2 separate regions of the Homo sapiens genome follow, and region 2 is linked to region 1. The links are contacts of gene promoters, found by promoter capture Hi-C in human tissues and cell types (Jung and others, 2019). All regions are on one chromosome and are shown on one strand. Each heading gives the region's core, a stretch centred on a gene start or on the middle of the fragment in contact. The rest is flanking DNA. Distances are from core to core; before and after follow the strand shown. Region 1 holds the start of C17orf107 (chromosome 17 open reading frame 107). Region 2 overlaps KIF1C (kinesin family member 1C).

Region 1 (2,500 bases), core at 1-2,500:
CGGAGCCCCCGCGGGGGTGTGGCCAGTGTGAAGGGTGGGGGCGTGGCCAAAACCCAGAGACCCCGGGAAAAGCTCTGGCTGTCTCGCCCCGCCCTGGGCTTTATTCGGACGCTGGGTGGGGCTGGTACGGGGATGGAGTCCCTGGTCCGCCGTCCTCCTCACTGCTGCTGGACGTCACCTGGAGGTCTCCCGAGTAGCTCTCTTGGGGGACAGTCCGGCTCAGTGCCTCCCTAGCCCCGCCGCCTCTGGCCCCTAACTCACCCCGTGTCCTGAGCTCACCGGTTCTCCGGGGATTCCGAGGCCTAGCTGCTGTTGCGACTGTCGCAGGAATGAGGCAGACCCCTGCAGACCCCGTCCACACAGGCATAGCCATGCTCCCTGGACTAGGAGCCGGGCGCTGGCGCCCACCGCAGCCCCAGCTTGCCGAACCCCCTGCCCTGCGGCTTGGGCTACCCGGCTCAGCGCTGCACCCGGATCCCTGCCGTCTGGGGCTGGGCCCGCGCTGCCGTCTAGTCGCCGCGCCTCCTGCTGCAGCCACAGGGCTGAGATCTGCATTGGGGGCACAGGGGTTAGCGGGGAGGCAGAGGTCCTTGTTCCCGCTACCCGATCGCCGCGTATCCTAAGCCCCCCAGTACCCCACCTCTAACAAGGTGGTGCCGAAGCTCACGAGGCTGGCTGTGGCTTCTCTCAACACCAGCCCCAGGGTGGGCTTCGGGGCAGGCAGCATCCCCTGCATCTTCGGTTCGGGTGGCTCCAGGGACTTCAGCTCTCTGAACCTCTGCTCCAGATATTCATGGGCTGCGGCCACGGAGAGTTCCAGGGAAGACAGAAGCGGGGGCTGGAGGGCCACCTGGAGAAGGAGCAGAGCAGTAGAGTAGCAGGGCAGGGGTCACAGGGGCGAACAGGAGACCTACCCAGAAGGTCTCGAGGTGCAGCCCTTGGCGGGCGTAGCCTCACCTCGGTGGAGCTGTGGAAGTGGTAGATCCACATCAGGGTGTCCAGGGAGCTGGGGGTCCCCTTCATGGCCGCCACAAGTGGTAGGACAGGAGAAGGGCTGGGGGACGCGTCTGTCGTCGTGTAGGGGGCGCAGCTGGAGGGCGTAACCAGCCCGTACCAGGAGAAGCCGTGTTTGTGAGGTCAGCGCGCGGCGCCTTCGGTAGCTGGGAGGAGGAACGGTGATGTCATGCCTTCCGGGCTCCTCAGGTTCCTTATTTTCGTCATGGTGGTCGCCACGCTCATTGTCATGAATTGCGTCATCGTGCTCAACGTGTCCCAGCGGACGCCCACCACCCACGCCATGTCCCCGCGGCTGCGCCACGTAAGCGCGGAGGGGGCGGTGCAGCCCGGGTCGGGGTGGGGCTTCGTACTAACCTCGTCCCCTAAGCCCCGCCCCTGCCCCAGGTTCTCCTGGAGCTGCTGCCGCGCCTCCTGGGCTCCCCGCCGCCGCCCGAGGCCCCCCGGGCCGCCTCGCCCCCAAGGCGGGCGTCGTCGGTGGGCTTATTGCTCCGCGCGGAGGAGCTGATACTGAAAAAGCCACGGAGCGAGCTCGTGTTTGAGGGGCAGAGGCACCGGCAGGGGACCTGGACGGGTGAGCACAGTGGCCCTGGCCCGGGGGGCCGCGCGGGGTGCCTGCCAGGGGGGAGGCTCCTAAGGCCCACCCCGGTGTTTTCCCCGCCAGCTGCCTTCTGCCAGAGCCTGGGCGCCGCCGCCCCCGAGGTCCGCTGCTGTGTGGATGCCGTGAACTTCGTGGCCGAGAGCACGAGAGATCAGGAGGCCACCGGCGAGGTGGGACAGGAGCCAGAGGCGGGTGGAGCGAGGCAGAGGCCCACCACTGTCTCCCATGCCGCTGGCTCCTGCAGCTGCCTCTTTACTGACTGTGCCGACCCTTCCCCAGGAAGTGTCCGACTGGGTGCGCATGGGGAATGCCCTTGACAACATCTGCTTCTGGGCCGCTCTGGTGCTCTTCAGCGTGGGCTCCAGCCTCATCTTCCTCGGGGCCTACTTCAACCGAGTGCCTGATCTCCCCTACGCGCCGTGTATCCAGCCTTAGCTCGCACCGACTTCAATTTCCCACCCATCTCCAGTAGGAAATTGATTTTGAAAAAGTAGGCTGCCGCCACCACGGCATTATGATCCCTTCCCCCTGCTGATCAATCTGCAGTTTGTGAACTTCACAAGAATGGTGTGTGCCCGTTCCCTGGCGTGTGTAGGCCTGGCCGCAGTCCAGGGGTCAGCAGGAGGAAAGGGTTCACATAGGCTCTCAGGTGCCAGTCTTCCAGAAAGCAAGGACTGCCCTTCATTCAGCCTTGCTGACCTCCCAGCCTTTCTAAGGCTCAGCCCCACGGGACTCTGGTGGCTGCCAGCTTGTGAGCTATCTATCTATATTCATTTCATAGCCAAACAGGAGACCCCTTTGCAGGACTTGCACACAGGGAGGCTGTAGCCAGGAAACCCTCTTCTTCCCTGGTCTGGCTCTGCTGGAGCGGGTGGGAACCAAACA
Region 2 (3,551 bases), core at 724-3,223, 110 kb before region 1:
GTACTTCCACTCAGCGGACCCCTGAGCACTCCCTCCAAAGTAGGCCTCCTGCATCCCTGACTGCCAATGTCCCCAACAACAGACCGCCTCCCGCCCCGCCCCCACCTGCCAAAATCATTCACTTCCTTCACGTTCCTCCCAGTCTGTCTGAAATGCAACTTCCTCCGGGAAGTTTTCCTAAGCCTTCCATCAGAACACAAGACCCCTGCCTCTGCTGCAGAAGGACTGACTGTGGCCTTTCTACCTCACCCTGGTGAAGCGCTAGGCGGGGTACAGAGATGAGTCAAGCCCAGGCACTGCTGTCCAGTCAGTCAGGAAATGAGAGTCAGCTAGGGGAGGTGAGGCTTGGCGTGGAAACACCATTACAAGTGGGAAACGGATGCCTCATGGAGGAGTTTCTGATTGTCTCATGCCCTTGTTTAAGTTCGTTTATTCATTCATTTGTTCCCAGGGGGTTGAGTGCCACTGTGTTCTGGGAGGGACTCACATGCAAAGAGGAACAAAGTGAAGAACTATGGGATTTCAAGGGGATCAGGAGGACTTAATGGAAGGGTAACATGGGAGCCAGCCTTTGAGGACAAGGAGGGCGTGGACATGCACAAGAGCGCTCCGGGTGAAAGCAGCCTGGACAGAAGCATGGAGGCAGAAAGCACAGGGTACAGAAGGGAAACAGCACGGAGTCGAACCTCTATTTCTCTGGGAGCCACTTAACACTCAGAGCCCAAAGCTGTGTCCCCCAGAGGTGTCTGTGTATCTTGTGCATCCGCCCTTCACCCAAGTGCTCCAAGGATCACTCCTGCGACACTTCTCCTGAGGGACTCCCATGCCCCTCCCTACACTGCAGTGTCAGGCCTGCTCTGGGACTGGCAAACGCTGATGGGCTCCGGAAGCAGAAAGCAATCTATCCCTGGGGAGAGGGAACACGATTTGAGGCGGTGCTTTTCAACTTTTTCTTCAGCCCTATAACTCTTTGTTCAAAATGAAACCTTCTCTAGAAGCCTAGGACATCAAGCAGATAAGCAAGAAGCTGCTCAGGCCCAGGCTGGGGGTGAGAGCCCCAGGGTCTGGTCCTGTCCCTATCCTCAGCCCCTGAGAAGGCAGCTCAGAACCAGGTTTGAACACCACTGATTTAAGCAATCCTTAGCCCTGGTGGTGGGGGTCTTAGCAAGAGGAGGCTCCCTCCAAGACAAACTGTAGTTTTTTCCTCTAAGACCCAACTATTCCCTGTTGGAGCTACTCACACCAAACCCATTTCCCCATGAGTCTAACAGTTCTCTCTTCTGGCTTTAGACCACATGGCTTTTAAACATGAGAAGAGTTCATCCTCACCACCTTGAGAAAAATGTAAAAGTGAACTACCTTAAGACACCTTCTCACCAATCACACAGGCAAAGAGAAAAGTCTTACTAAGCCAGAATGTGGGAAAGGGCGAGGGGAAATGGGCTCTCTTGTATGTTACCCTTGGGAGTATAAATTGGTATGGTTCAAAAAATTAGCCAGGAGTGGTGGTGGGCGCCTGTAGTCCCAGCTACTTGGGAGGCTGAGGCAGGAGAATGGCGTGAACCCGGGAGGCGGAGCTTGCAGTGGGCCGAGATTGCACCACTGCACTCCAGCCTGGGCAACACAGCAAGACTCCATCTCAAAAAAGTAAAATAAATTGGTATGGTTATAATCTTCAGAGGGCACTTTGGCAATATAGATTAAAAAAAAAATTTTTTTTTTTGAGACGGAGTCTCGCTCTGTCACCTGGGCTGGAGTGCAGTGGCATGATCTCGGCTCACTGCAAGCTCCGCCTCCCGGGTTCACGCCATTCTCCTGCCTCAGCCTCCCAAGTAGCTGGGACTACAGGTGCCCGCCACCACGCCCGGCTAATTTTTTCTATTTTAGTAGAGATGGGGTTTCACCTTGTTAGCCAGGATGGTCTCGATCTCCTGACCTCGTGATCCGCCCGCCTCGGCCTCCCAAAGTGCTGGGATTACAGGCGTGAGCCACCGCACCCGGCCTAGATTAAAATTTTACATGGCTACCATTTGACCCAAAATCTCCATTTCTAGGAATCTGCTCTACAGATAACACCCATTTGTAAGACTATGCATTGTAGCCTTTTTTTGTAGTATCAAGGAATGGGAAACAATCTGAATGTCCATCAGTGGGAAGCTGGTTAAATACATTATCCTACATCTACACAATAGAATACCCTGACACCGTGAAAAAAATAAAGGAAGCTTTAAAATAAGGTATGCAGGCCAAGCACAGTAGCTCACACCTGTAATACCAGCACTTCAGGAGGCCAAGGCCAGTGCATCATTTGAGGCCAGGAGTTTGAGACCAGCCTGGCCAACATGGCGAAACCCTGTCTCTACTAAAATACAAAAATTAGCCCGGCGTGGTGGTGGGTGCCTGTAATCCCAGCTACTTGGGAGGCTGAGGCATGAGAATCACTTGAACCTGGGAGGCAGAGTTTGCACTGAGCTGAGATTGTGCCACTGCACTCCAGCCTGGGCGACAGAGTGTGACTCTTGTCTCAAAATAAATAAATAAAATAGATATGCAACTACAACTATTAGAGAGGCCGTGAATGTGAGTAAATGTGTATAGTTCTATATAACATATGCCTGTACATGTGTTATAACATCTCCTAGACAGCATCTCTAGGAGAACATTTTTTCTTTTTTTTTTTTTTGAGACAGAGTCTTGTCTGTCACCCAGGCTGGAGTGCAGTGGTGCGATCTCAGCTCACTGCAACCTCTGCCTCCCGGGTTCATGTCATTCTACTGCCTCAGCCTCCCTAGTAGCTGGGACTACAGGCGCCCGCCAGCACACGTGGCTAATTTTTTGTATTTGTAGTAGAGACGGGGTTTCACTGTGTTAGCCAGGATGGTCTCAATCTCCTGACCTCGTGATCCACCCGCCTTGGCCTCCCAAAGTGCTAGGATTACAGGTGTGAGCCACCAGGCCCGACCCAAGGAGAATATAGTAAGAACCCATAATGGGCCTGGCACGGTGGCTCACACCTGTAACCCCAGCACTTTGGGACTCCGAAGTGGGTGGATCACGAGGTCAGAAGTTCAAGACCACTCCGGCCAACATAGTGAACCCCATCTCTACTAAAAATACAAAATATTAGCCGGGTGTGATGGTGTGCGCCTGTAATCCCAGCTACTTGGGAGGCTGAGGCAGAAGAATCGTATGAACCCAGGAGGCGGAGGTTGCAGTCAGCCAAGATTGCACCGTTGCACTCCAGCCCGGGTGACAGTACAAGACCCCGTCTCAAAAAAAAAAAGAACTCATAATGAAGGCTGCCTCTGAGGGGAAACTTAAGGGTGGGAAGGATGGAGAGTTACTTTTTTTTTTTTTCTATAACAAAATGCTGTAAATTGGAGACTTTTCACTGTACACACCTTTTAGAACTATTAGAATGTTCTCTCTGGTGTGTATTACCTTTATAAGAACAATTAAAACAAGAACCCCCTCCTTTGGTCCCCAGGCTTTGGCAGGTGGCATCTCTGCAAGCTCTCCAAGGAAGAAACCTCCACCCCACCAGTCTCCCC

What was found. The method cuts DNA at HindIII sites, captures the fragments that hold promoters and counts their contacts. A contact is called where the count stands out against the background at its distance.
Region 2: a fragment that was not itself captured here is called in contact with the fragment with the promoter of C17orf107 in region 1 in 2 of the 25 tissues and cell types used here (aorta and spleen).

Annotation. Positions count from the first base shown.
Region 1 is chr17:4,898,286-4,900,785 of GRCh38, reverse strand. C17orf107 (chromosome 17 open reading frame 107) reads right to left here and starts at 1,250. Exons shown (of 3, transcript NM_001145536.2): 1 at 958-1,250; 2 at 641-850; 3 at 1-549. The coding sequence starts at 1,023. The coding sequence ends at 253. CHRNE (cholinergic receptor nicotinic epsilon subunit) reads left to right here. Exons shown (of 12, transcript NM_000080.4): 9 at 1,204-1,318; 10 at 1,402-1,588; 11 at 1,679-1,785; 12 at 1,895-2,500. The coding sequence ends at 2,050. RefSeq lists an enhancer at 864-1,173 and silencers at 1,374-1,483, 1,504-1,653. The HindIII fragment of the contact is 33,281 bases long and covers 1-2,500 here.
Region 2 is chr17:5,008,919-5,012,469 of GRCh38, reverse strand. All of the region lies in intron 16 of KIF1C (kinesin family member 1C), which reads right to left. Among named protein-coding and RNA genes, the nearest start is that of KIF1C-AS1, 9.4 kb to the left of the region's middle. RefSeq lists a silencer at 174-233. The HindIII fragment of the contact is 9,299 bases long and covers 1-3,551 here.